Regions from separate parts of the Homo sapiens genome. Here region 2 is linked to region 1. The links are contacts of gene promoters, found by promoter capture Hi-C in blood cells and fetal thymus (Javierre and others, 2016). All regions are on one chromosome and are shown on one strand. Each heading gives the region's core, a stretch centred on a gene start or on the middle of the fragment in contact. The rest is flanking DNA. Distances are from core to core; before and after follow the strand shown.

Region 1 (6,468 bases), core at 1,308-3,807:
AGGATGCCATACCTGGAAATTAATAGACAACTCGGAATTGTACAACAGCTTATTCTGGCAACACTTTTTTTCTTCCTGTTTCCAAAAGGAAGGAATGGTATCTCACAGTGTTCTCTGTTTAACCTTGACTGCTGGCCCTGTAGCGGGTCTTGCTTTCACCCCTCCCCGCATGACTCGTTCTCTCATAATTCCCTTCTGTATTTAGCGGCCTATGTTATTATACAAGTTTTGCTCCCCATTACATCCCTGGCATTTCACTTTGTGCTTGGTACAGAGAATATGCTTAATACTTTTCTTGAATGAATGAAAGTGTCAACTGAAGAATGACAGGTTCATACATTTGGAAAGGAGAGCTTCATTTCACATAAAGGATTGCAGCCTGCAGGGTGATCATTCTGACCTCTGAAAAGTATAGCCTCTAATCAGAAGCTGGAAACAGACATTTTGAGGGAGGAGCAAAGGAAACAGAAATTTATGTTGAGCAGGGTAGCTGAATATATATATTCAATAAGCTATAGGGGAAGCCATGAATATTTGTGAAAGGAGAAATGTGCACATGCACAATGGAGTTTCATGCTTCTCCATGGGATCCGTGTTCAAAAAATGACAGCATTAATACAATCTGAGGGGGCAGTTTTCAGCCCAATGTGAAGCAGAGGACATGAAAACCTTTACTGCACATTCTCCATAGACTAGCCAGAAACATTCCATGATCAGTATTTTCTTTTTGTTCCAAACCACAAAAGAGAGGGATAACACCAGGTGATGGTTGATGTCATTGGTGTAATCTTTTGAAATGACTGGTTTCTTTTTAGCCATAGGGCAGAAAGCCTAATCATAGTTAGTGATGGAGCGGGTATGTGTTCCACTTCCTATCCTGTCATGGCCAAAAACTTAGTTTTCAAGTTTACTCTGGGATCCCCTTGGCCAAGAGCGTGTCCGTTCAGTTAATCTAGGGGCTTGGGATTTTATTTTTATTCCTCAAATGTAACAAATTTAAAGAAAGAAAGAAATTTATAAAACATAAGAAATAGAAGTATAGCTTAGACCTCCAAGCAAGTTCTTTAAAGGTGACAAGTTAAACAGTAGTTTTTAAGATAATATTTTGATGAAATTTTTAATCATATTATTACAAGATTTTAGAAGAAGCAAGATCTTGTGAAAACAAAACCTTAATGTCCATATCTAGCTCTCTAAATCTATAGTCAGTCTTTAAAAGAGTGACACAAAAATGACACAGATCCGCCCTCTGGTTCGCTCCCCATATATTAGAGCCTGGTAATCTTCCAAAGTTTTTACAGCATGAGGCATACACAGAATAGATGCAAAAAAAGTACACCTTCTGAAATTTCCTGAATGGATTCAAACTTTTACTATTCTAAGTTAATCAATTGGTAGTCTACTTACTTTATAGGATTATTGTAAGGATAGGATCAATGAAGTGAAATATATTTTATTTTCACTGGTCAATTACTCGTATTAAAGCAATTTCATGCACTTTATCTCCCTCTCTTGGAAACTGGAGAGTAGTACTTTTTGTCTGGTTACTTAAGATTAAAAAAAAGACAATATGTCACTTTTGACTTGAGTGTCATGGTATCTATGGCCTTCAACCTGCATGGTTTTATCGTTTCAGTAATCTTGGGAGGAAGGTATTATTAAGTTCATTTGATAAATAGGAGACTGAGCCTCCACAAGGGTTAAGTGAATTGCTCAGGGTTATACAATGAACACTTGATAGAAATGATTAAATGACACTTTACTTGATTTGTTGTGGGTTACTAAATAAAGCATAGGTGTGCATAAGTCATTCAATTATTCAAGCACATTCTTCATCCCTAGTCCTAATATCGAAAGTCTTTGCTCTTAGTTTTTATAACTACAAGGATATTCATCAAAAGACCCAAGCTCAGGAATAAGCCTAAAGAGGTAGTCAGACTAGAACAAAAGACAATTCACAGACTTAAATGAATAATTTGCATTAATGAAGTTTGCCAGGCTAGTTTCCACTTGAATCTTCAGATCTTTCTTCCTTCATTGTCTTGTTAACTGTCCAGATTTATTACCTAGGAGTTTTTGAAAACTCACATATTAGGCAATAGAGTGTATTCTGGAATTGAGAGCCTATTTTAAACTTTTGACTAAAAAGTTTACCCATTAAATGTCATAGATTCAACCATCAGACTGAAAATCCTCAGTGTATTTGAAGGAGGGTATTGTCTCAAAAATCCAGAGCTCAAAGTGAAGAAGAAAGGCAAAATTTGGAATTTAGCTCTAAGACCAACTCATCAGTTCAGGGGTCAGAGATTTATATAGTTAAAGGACAAGTGTGTGTTTACCTGAGTTTAAAGAGCAAAGTTGCCTCTGGAAAGAAGCCCTCACTGGAGGCTCTGGCATTTGAAATGGTGGGCAGGAGCACATGTTGCTTAAATTTCTGACAGTGGCTGGAGATTACCGATTGGTTAGGGGAGAGGAAGTAAAGTAAAATATTTATAAATTCTCCACTGGGTGGAGTCTGAGCAGTTCTTTGAATTTCTCACCCTAAGATCTGGCCTGTACATTTTCAAGGAATTCTTGAGAGGTTCTTGGAGAGATTCTGGGAGCCAAACACTCCATTGGGATCCTAGCTGGTAAGCTTGAGGCGCTGATAAAAACTCTCTACCCTAATGTTTACTCCATGTTTTTTCCAAATGAAACTTCTGTCAGCTAGAATCCTTGTCATAGTGTTTTAGAGGTTTTTTTCTGCTACTCTCTTCTTTTTTTATATATATTCTTTTTGTAAATAAAAATGGTATGACCTTCCTAAAGGCCCCACCTTTAGAAATGGGTTAAATGAAAAGATCTTTACTAATGTAATAGAAAAGAACTGATGAACATAGTGCACTGAATATGGTTACATTTGACAAACCAAAGTTAGTCCTGTTCTTATTTGAGTTTAAGCGGTAAGATTAGGTCAAACTCCAGACGAGGGAAAGATATTCTTAAACAGATTTTAAGTCCTCTGTTTTCTGGTAACTTTAATTGTCTTATGCTGCTAGTAGTCATATTAAATATTTATTTAGAGAAGTGAAAATGCCTACTCTTGAACAGAGTTTCTTCCCCTTTCATTTTATGAAACCTAAGAAAAGAAAGTTGATACACTTTTTAAAAATATACTAGATTTTCTTTTTTCCTTTCTGCTTTTATTTTGAGGCCAGTGGGGTGTTATTTAGTAGTAACACTGAAGCAAATGTATTGATTTTCTTAACGTGTTCAGCAAGTAATTCATATCCTAGATATGAAATATACACTCGTAGCAGAGTAATGTTACCCATTTCTCAATGATATGCTTAAAGAATCTTGCTCAATATGCATATTGTTTTTCCTTTTTTCTTTACTAATGAAAAACTACACGCTTTCTCAACATATTTTTAAGTCAGGTTCTAAACTTTGAACTCCTATGTACAATTTGCTTATTTCAGGCATGAATGTGAAACTGTGTAAAGATTAACTACCAGACACTCAGTCATTTATTTAACTATTTAGCCCTAAATCAGTGGGTGACTAGGAGATTCTGAATTCTGTGATTTCGTTAAAATCAATCAGTTTTTAATTATTATACAAGCTTTTTACTTTAAAGTTGTAGCTGTCTAAATAAAATTGTGAAAGCACAATTTCCAAACCTAAATCGAAGGCACATTGATGCTGTCCATCAGAAGGTATTGATAATTTAAAAAAATATTACAAACTATCTTTTATCTTTTTATAAAGGACCTAATGTCATTTGAGCTTAACCATAATCCTTTGAAGAAAGTAAAATTTAACTTTAAATAACATTGACATACAGAGCAGTTAGGTGATTTGTCTGAGACCATATGGTATGTATGTCCCCCGTCTTGATAAAATTAACACTAAATATGTAACATTTGAAAATTTGTAAAATATGTAAAAGTTGAAGTTTTTAAAAGTTTGGATTTAAGTTCTTCCTTTCAGAATATGAGCATGTCACTTTATTTGCAAACTAAACATGGCATAACATTATGGCTTGTGAACACTAATTGTCTTAGCTGCTGGGGTGAATGCAGAATTAAGCAGCAATTAGTATGAGTGAATAAATTGCATCCTTAGAGTGAGTGCACTATGCTATTCTGGGAACTAAAGACTATATTTGAGACCATGCGAAGTTGTGCAAGTGGTGGAGTAGGGCAGGGTGCAGTCATTTGGAAGACTATGCCCATCAGGTATCTCAAGGTACCCCAGATGTGACAGGCCCAGGAGCGGAACCAGCCACTTTAACTTTTGCCTGGCTGAAACTGGACTGGGAAGGATGGATTAAAAAGGTAAATCAATTCATACGTAGCTTGTGGTCCTTTGCAGCTTAAGTGTAGGACTGAAAAAAGAAGCCAAAGAAAAAGGGAATGAGCTGAAGAAATACACACACGTACACACACACATCAGGAAGCAACAGGCAAGGAAAAATAAAGTGAGAGGTTCAAGGCTTCGAGGAGGAATTGAGCTCTGTGCATTCCATTCATGGGCTTTGCCAAAGACCAGCACAATGGACTCAGCATCTCAGGCATGGTTAAGTACCCTACTGTGCACTCTGCTATCCTTTTAGTCCACTGGTTTCTACTCTGTCTGTGCCAGGTTTTCATCTCAATATAGAGGAAAAGGATTCTGATGCCTCAGGATTATTACAAGCATTAAATAAGATACAGATAGAATGACGCTAATGAGTATCATTTTTAAAATAAGGAAAGTTGAATTTTATTCAGAATCTGTTGGTAACAAACTAATCTCTTTATTTAAGTAACCCCACTTAGAGTTTAAAGTCACCTCCAATCAACTCAAAGGGCTGACCTCCCAAAGAAAGTCTCAAATATAAGGCAAGCTCTCTTGATTCTGAATTTCATTAGAAATGTTTGTCTAAGTCTTTCTCATATGGTCAGAATGAGAGAGGGTGCCCTTCTAGTAATATGTCATTATGTCAAATAATTCATCAACCAATTTTGTTTATTCTCTCGAACTGCCACTTTGGCGGCAGGGGTACTCTGTCTAAATGAGATGTCTATAAAGATAAATTAAACATGATTCAGGCCCCCAGGTAGAGTTCAGTTCAGTAGGGTAGAACAGCAACTCAGTCCAGCTACCATCAGTAATATGTTTGTAGTAAGACTAATCTGATAGTAAGGCAGAAAAACATCTCATGGAATTTTAGGAATAGCCAAGAAGATGGGTCCCCTGGAGACTTGCACATAGCATGTTGCATGAAGGATTCAGTGACTTGCAAGATGGGCTTGTCTTGTCACCTTTTCAGGAGACATAGCTGTTCAATCCCTTGCCATTGTGTAACTAAGTGACTCTTACTTGCTGCTGGAATCACTTCATGCTTTTCATGCTTTAACAATCAGTGGTTCTGTTTTACTTTGAAAAATGAGTCATTCTATGACAGTATTCCTCCTAGACCCTAGCATTTCATAGCTTCTATCTATGATTATTTTAAATTCTAGCTCCTGTATCTAACTGAATGAATAAGCACATCCCACAGCTCAGATTCCTGAAAGAATTTGATTATGTACTCAGCTAAACATCATCACTGTTTGGTTAGAGCTTTTATAGCAAATAATTCACAGATCTTTGATGAAACTACATTGTCTTTAGTGGGTAAGTGTCCAACAGAGGTCTAATAAACTATGACCAGGCAATTGATAATGCCAAGCGGTAGAGACACAGTGATCTCTCTTCAAAATGCAGTTTCCTTCATCAGAAAGCTATGTGTGGGGAGCCATTTAGAATCAAGTTTCAGGCATAGCAAATGTTTTTGATCTTTCCTATCCATACATATGTCCAAATAAATATAGTACCTGGCAGAATGTATTATTATCGTAAGTAAAGTACATAAGTGTGCTCTTAATTGTTATTGGTGTTCAGAGGAAGACGGGCTACTTTTGCCTGAGACATCCTAACAGGCCTCTTGAAAAAAGCATTGGAGCATTAGGTCTTTGAAGGTTGGCTAGAATCCAAACAAGTTGAAGGGGAGCAAAACATTTTAGGCAAAGGAAATGGCATGAGAAAAATCACAGAAATAGAAAATTTCATGTGGAGGACAAATAATACTTATGGTCAGATATTGAAAGCACCATCCATCAATGTTGAAATCCTACACTTTTGTACAGAACCATGGATTGAAGCAGTTAGGAGTCACAACTGATATCAAAGTAAAAAACATGCAATGGTGAACCTTGGTATCTTTGTCTAGGAATATAAAGAATGGCTTATCAGTGGAGACCATCGACAGTTGAGAAAAGAAGAAGCCCAAAAAGTACAAGAATGAAAATCGAGAGTGTAAGAAGAATGTCTGTTTTACTGGCATTATCTAACACTCAGATATGCAACTCTTTATTGCCAAACACTGTGTGTGTTAGTTAAGGTAAAAGGTGAAGGGAGGCAGAAGAATGGAGATTGAATTGAATTCTAGAGCTTTAGTTC
Region 2 (6,468 bases), core at 1,996-4,495, 4.8 Mb after region 1:
CCAGCCTTTTAGAAAGGAAGCTCACATATATATTAAAATTTTAAAAGCATTTTAAAGTTTTATAAAATTTTAAAAGTCATATTAAAATTTGACTCAGCAATTTTACTTCTGGGAATCAATCCTGTAAAAATTGAAGTATCAGTACATAAATACATATATAATAAGGAAGTTTATTGCAGTTGTGTTTGTAATGGCAAAAACTTGAAACAACCTACCTGTCTACAAAGGGTGGAAAGTTTGAATAGATAGCAATGGATCCATATGGTGCAGCTTATCATGCAACTATCAAAAGAAAGAGTCTGGCCAGGCTCAGTGGCTCACACCTGTAATCCCAGCACTTTGGGAGGCTGAGACAGGCAGATCACCTGAAGTCAGGAATTTGAGACCAGCCTGGCCAACATGGCAAAACCCCATCTCTACTAAAAATACAAAAATTAGCCAGGCATGGTGGCGTGCCTGTAATCCCAGCTACTTGGGAGGCTGAGGCAAAAGAATCACTTGAACCAGGGAAGTGAAGGTTGCAGTGAGCCAAGATCACACCACGGCACTCCAACCTGGGCAATAGAGTGAGACTCTATCTCAAAAAAAAAAAAAAAAAAAAGAAGTCAGATTTACATATTAACTTCAAGAGATGTCCATGATATAGTATTGAGAAAAGCAAACTGCAGGGAAGAAGAGAGAGAGATATATAAATAGTATGATCACATCTTTGTTTAAAAGAACAGAATAGTAGAGTTTGAATTTGAGCTTTGCAATTTAAGTGATCTTTGAACCTTAATTCTTTTTTTCTTCTTGCTTTTTTTCATTGTTTTGCTGCGTTCAAGGTTTGCCTAGAAGAACCTTAATTCTTCATCTGCAAAATAAAGGCAATCTTTTTGTAAGATGATGATGAAAATGACTTCTGAACTGTAAATAACAACTAAATGTCATATAATATTCTTATAAAATGGTCTTGTGTGAGTCTGAAGTGTAGGCTCCACAATGTCCTCAAAGGGTAGTATCAACTTGCAAAGTTTTATTTGGGTGTATCCATGCCAATATCAGGCACCTCCTCTGGTTTCCAATTGTGTGCAACCAGATTCACAAGGGAGAAGACAAATGGTAAATTATACTTAAGACCACTGCAGATCACTCTTAAAATGCCAAGAAAACAACTGCCCATGTTCCTCCAAGGAGTCACACAATCCATTCAGTACTTTCAGGACTGACAAGATCATGTTTATTTCAGTGGCTGGGTAAGTAGAGCATCATAGAAGATAACAGCTTTGTAGAAATATGGTTGTATATAAAAAGTGTTTTCACCTTTTAAAGTCAATACATTCTCTCTCCACCTTATCCTAATAGATAGTTTTAATCATACAATAAACATAATTTTATATCCCATCTCTGGGCCAGATGGCCTGCATTCCAATCCTGGGCTCTACTTCCAGCTGTGTAACCTTGGAAAATTACTTAACCTCTGTCTCAGTTCCTTCATTTGCAAAATGGGAGTAATAATAATACGTACCATGTACGATTGTGATAATTAAATGAGTTAAAACATGTAAAGAATGTAAAATTGAGATATTAGCTAATAGGTACTAAATAAATGTTAGTTTATTATTAAATGCTATTATCTTAATCTTTCCATTTAACACAAATATATACACTTTTCCCATATTTATTATATAGTCTTCATAGCCAACATTTTATTGGTGCATAATAGTATATAAATAGCATACTCTGTTAAGTGGGTGTGCTATAATTTATTTCAACATTATTCAAGACATGGGAATAATGCTTGCTTCTTATTTTTCAAAATTTTTTATATTTTACATTTATTAATAATATCTTAATGTCTTTGTACAGTGACTTTTTCCATATTCTGGATTATTACTGTAAGCTCGATCCCTAGAAAGAGTTTAGAGGAATAATTGGTATAGAAATCTTTAGGTATTTTGATACATCTTGAAAGTTGGACTTTTGATTATAAAGATTCTATCTTTGCTTATTCCTTTCTGAACCTCTACTCAGAACTTGACACAAGGCTCTTCATCCAGCCATTCAACACCTGCTGATATTTGTTCTCAAGGTACATTTAAGAAAGGTCATTATAAGAAATTACCATATTAAAATTCATCTACAAAATTATTTGAGTTTCATCTTTAAAAGATAGTTTTCTAAGTATATAATCACTTCATATTAGAGCTTTGTTGCTAATAAGGGAAATTTGAACTCCAAAAAAAACCACCAGAAAAACCCACTTACTCAATGATATTTTTAGCACGTAAAATTCCCCCTATGAATCATATGCTCACAAACCATGCACCCCTAAATATTTAGCTCCTTCTGACTCATTCTGAAACATTCTGACAACTTCTCCATTGAAATTTAAAATTTCCCAATACTGTAAGATCCTCCTTTCCTCTAATTAATTAGTTCCCTTTCCCATTGGCAAAATGCAGTAGTGATAATCTCTACACTTACAGACTGTGGAATGGAGCACACAGCTGGAATCTTTCACTGCCCACAAGTCTACATTTTCCCATCTTCCTGGTATGTCTCTCTCACCTAATACTGGATTTTCATTGCCCTCTTTTCCTGCCACTGACAACCACCACCCACAGGTAAAATCTTATCCTTCAAAATCTTGGATGTGTCCTAAAACCCCATTTTCAACTGTATTAATGAGAGTTCTCCAGAGAAACAGAACCAATAGACTATATATATGCATATGTATGTGTGTATAAAATAGAATATATATGTGTATACATATAGAAAAAGAGAGAGAGAGATTTAAAACGAATTGACTTATATGATTATAGAGGCTAAAATGCCCCAAGATTTGCAGTTGGCAATCAGCAAACTAGAGAACCAGGGTAGCCAATGGCATAAGTTCCAGTCAGAAAGCTTGCAAGCTGAAGAACCAAGAAGAACCAATGTTTGAGTCTGAAGGCGGGAAAAGACCAATGTTCCAGCTCAGGCAGTGAGGTGGGAGGCATCCCCCCTTACTCAAGGGAGGTTTAGCCTTTTTGTTCTATTCGGGCCTTCATGTGATTGGATGAGGCCCACCCATATAAGGGAGGAAAATCTGCTTTGCTCAATCTATGGATTCAAATGTGGATCTCATCCAAAGCACCCCAACAGATACACCCAGAAATAATGTTTGACCAAATATCAGGGCACCCCATGGTCCAGTAAAGTTGACCCATAAAATTAACTATCACACCATCTGCAGACTCTGGTTTCTGCGCTCTCTCTGCACCGTTTGCTTAAGAAATCACACCCTCTTCACTAATATCTGCGGATTGATGCAGTCTTTCTCTCCCATAACACTCTGCTTACTTCCTACTCTACTAGCAACACACTTCCGAGTGCTCTGTCTTATGCGGGGGTCACTCCACACAGAAAGCTCCCACCACACATGAGAAAAATTGAATTCATAATGTTTGTTCTCAATGGCCCCTTCTCTTATTGTCAATGATTATAGTACCCAAAAAATAAACATGGAACTCATTCCTCAGGTATTTTTCTATTCTGTTGCTACAAATCACACCAGGTTGCTGGTCTGGCCAGCTTTCAAGTTTCTTTGCCACCAATTATTGAATTAATTAGTTTTCCAGCAAGCTTGCTCTTTGTTCTGTGTAGTACATAAATGGCACTCGGGGTGGAAAGTTTACAGTAAGAAAGCAAGACAAGTGCTCATTTAAGTCACCATGAAAAGCACTTAAAACCCCCACACCTTCCAAGTAGACCCTCACTGACCATTATCTACCTCTCAGGCAGGACCAAGTGAGTGGCTTTAGAGACCTGAAAATTTCACCTCAGCGGCCTTGCATGAACCCAAACTAAATTTGAAATATAAAGTCATTCTTTGAAACCTCACTGGAAATGCTAGCAATATGTCTGGGTGATGCTTCTGGCTGGCAAAATGGCAAGTCATTTATCCTTTCTGCCCTTGTTTCCTCATATGTGAAATGAGGAACACTGACTCACTTCACAGGAAGGCTGCATGCGTTTAATTAGTTAACAACACACATCAAAAATACAAACTGCAGAATACCTTTGCTCAGCCGGAAGCTCAGTAAACCTGCCAGGAGCATTCATTGCTTAGTTGATCTAACCTAGATCTTTCCTTACGTCGTGGCTCTGGTTCTGCTCTGACCCATAAACACGTTTTTGTCTACATGTACAGATTCTTACAGACACATGGATTTTAGATTTCTATTTTAATGTTTTCTTTTTATGACTGCAATTGTTGAGGTTTTATGTTTTCTTTATCAAATGTTCACTAAGATCCCTATTTACTACAGAAAACTTTAGACACCCATGCCAAAAAATTGCATGTCCGACTAGCATATCCTAGCCAAATGAGCCCACATCAAACTCAGCTTTACTTTCCTTACTCCAAAGTACCTTCTGTGACTAGACAAAAGATGATGGAAACTTCATCCTAGAACATCAGACCCTGCCAGGCACATTTCCATCTGTCCTATTGAAGATTGCCAAAAGCATTTTCTGAAGATTTTTTTCTCATAAAATTCATCAATCAAAAATTCTTTCAGGCAGAAGTTATTTAAGGACTAGGAAATGTAGTGATTCCTTCCCTGACTGACCTCTTGGACTGCAGGAGACACACCTAACCACAATGGAAGGAGGAAAACAACTGATGCACCGTCAGGATCTGTTTACTTCCTTTCAGCCACACACTCCCCACTGCCACCAGCACACATACAGACATTCAGCCTAAGTGATCAACAATCATAGCCTTACAAAAAAAGAGGAAATCAGGTGTCTTGAACTCTAAAGGAAGTGGGAAACTTCACAGCTAGAGCCTGGAACCCAGAAGTTAGGAGATAAATCAAATTGATGCCAAGGAGGAAAGGTTGAGGCCAACAGCTTGGGTTTGAATGGATCAATGGCTGGCCAACCAAGTCAAAAAGTAGCCTGACTATGTTGACATTGGAGCAAGGGAAAGTCTTGCTGATAAGCAGTGGCAGGGATAGAAAACATTCATATTAAATGTGTTTGTTCTCTTCTGCAGTGAAGACTAAATAGTTGAAGGGGAAAGCCTTCTTAGATTCCTCTCCTTGAACTAGCACTGTTAATTTGCTAACCTGTGCCAAATTACCAGTCACCTCTCATCAGTCCTCTCTTGTCAGTCCTACTTCTCAACTTTTCCCAAAGATTCTTAGGACCACTAAATCTTCCCACATCCAGTTCTCTTCCTTTTAGGCCCTTATTGCTTCAGGCTCTTCTTTTTTCATTTTTCTCCTAAATAGCCATGGCAGAATTATGCTGGGACATTGTAGTTTCTAGGTGCATTAGTATGTGAATTAGTCTTTATTTAAAGAAACTATGGCATGCCGATCACCATGTTGGGTATATAAGAATGCTTTTAAAAAATGAAGTCATTTCTTCTACCAATAAAATTTTCTTTCTAATTAAAGAGTTCATACCACCACAAATACAATAGCACTGAAAAAATGCATTAACAAAATGAGGTATAGGCAAACAGAAGTCAAGATACTACCAAATAAGCAGAATCCAGAGGTCCTAAAGGAGCACTCTCCAACCACAACCCCAGGAAATGAGGTCAGAGCTAACTGGGGAAAGTGATCACTCCAGCTGCCTTCACTTCTTACTTCCTATTCACTCCTTCACCCTCTGGCATCTGGCTTCCTTTCGCCATATGTTTGCTATCTAGCAGCTGATGGTTCTCAAATTTAGCATGCATGAGAATCACCTAGAGGGCTTGTTCAAACAGATTTCTGAGGCCCACTCCTAGTGCATCCAATTCAGGAGGTCTGAGATGTGGCCCCAAAATTTGCATTTCTGAAAAGTTCCCAGGTGATGATGATGATGTTGCTCTCGTCCTAAATCTTTCCTCCTTGTGAAGCTGCTTAAAATATTGCTTTGGTCAAATCCCTTCAAACTCTAAAATCCACCCTGATTTTTGTGGCCTAAATAATGAATTCCCAAAGCTGACTCAGGTATTAGGGTCTCTGCAATCTGCCCTGACCTTCAGACAGAGGCCAGATGGACACCTGTTGAGTCAGTGGTAGAATAGACTCCCGCACTGAGCAAACTTCCCTTCCAACTCTCCAATTGTATCAGGTATATCCAAGTTTTAGTTTTATGATTTCTCTGATAAAATCATGGCTTCAACCAATCCATCCTACTAATTTTTTGCGCCAAGATTCCATCTTAACTATCACATACGCACCTTTGTTAATGAGATTCACATTGATTTCTGTCTTCACAAATCCTAATCACCCATCGAAGTCAAACCCAGTGCCTTCTTTTCTACTGGTGTTCATAATTCCATGGCTCTCGGGTACTTTGTATTTAGTCTTCCCCTTCTTCTTCTTCCTCTTCTTCTTTTACTCCTCCTCCTTCTTCCTCCCTCCCTCTCTTCCTCTCTCCCTTGAATTATTCCTATCACTATAAAACATGATTTAGAACCTCTTACCCTATAAAAAATGGTTA

What was found. Contacts are between HindIII fragments. The CHiCAGO score rates a contact against its expected background, and 5 or more counts as called.
Region 2: a fragment that was not itself captured here is called in contact with the fragment with the promoter of KYNU in region 1 in 1 of 17 cell types (monocytes); the score reaches 8.8 in monocytes.

Annotation. Positions count from the first base shown.
Region 1 is chr2:142,875,107-142,881,574 of GRCh38, forward strand. KYNU (kynureninase) reads left to right here and starts at 2,558. Exons shown (of 14, transcript NM_003937.3): 1 at 2,558-2,630. The HindIII fragment of the contact is 4,288 bases long and covers 1-2,633 here.
Region 2 is chr2:147,626,792-147,633,259 of GRCh38, forward strand. No RefSeq gene overlaps it. Among named protein-coding and RNA genes, the nearest start is that of ACVR2A, 220 kb to the right of the region's middle. The HindIII fragment of the contact is 717 bases long and covers 2,888-3,604 here.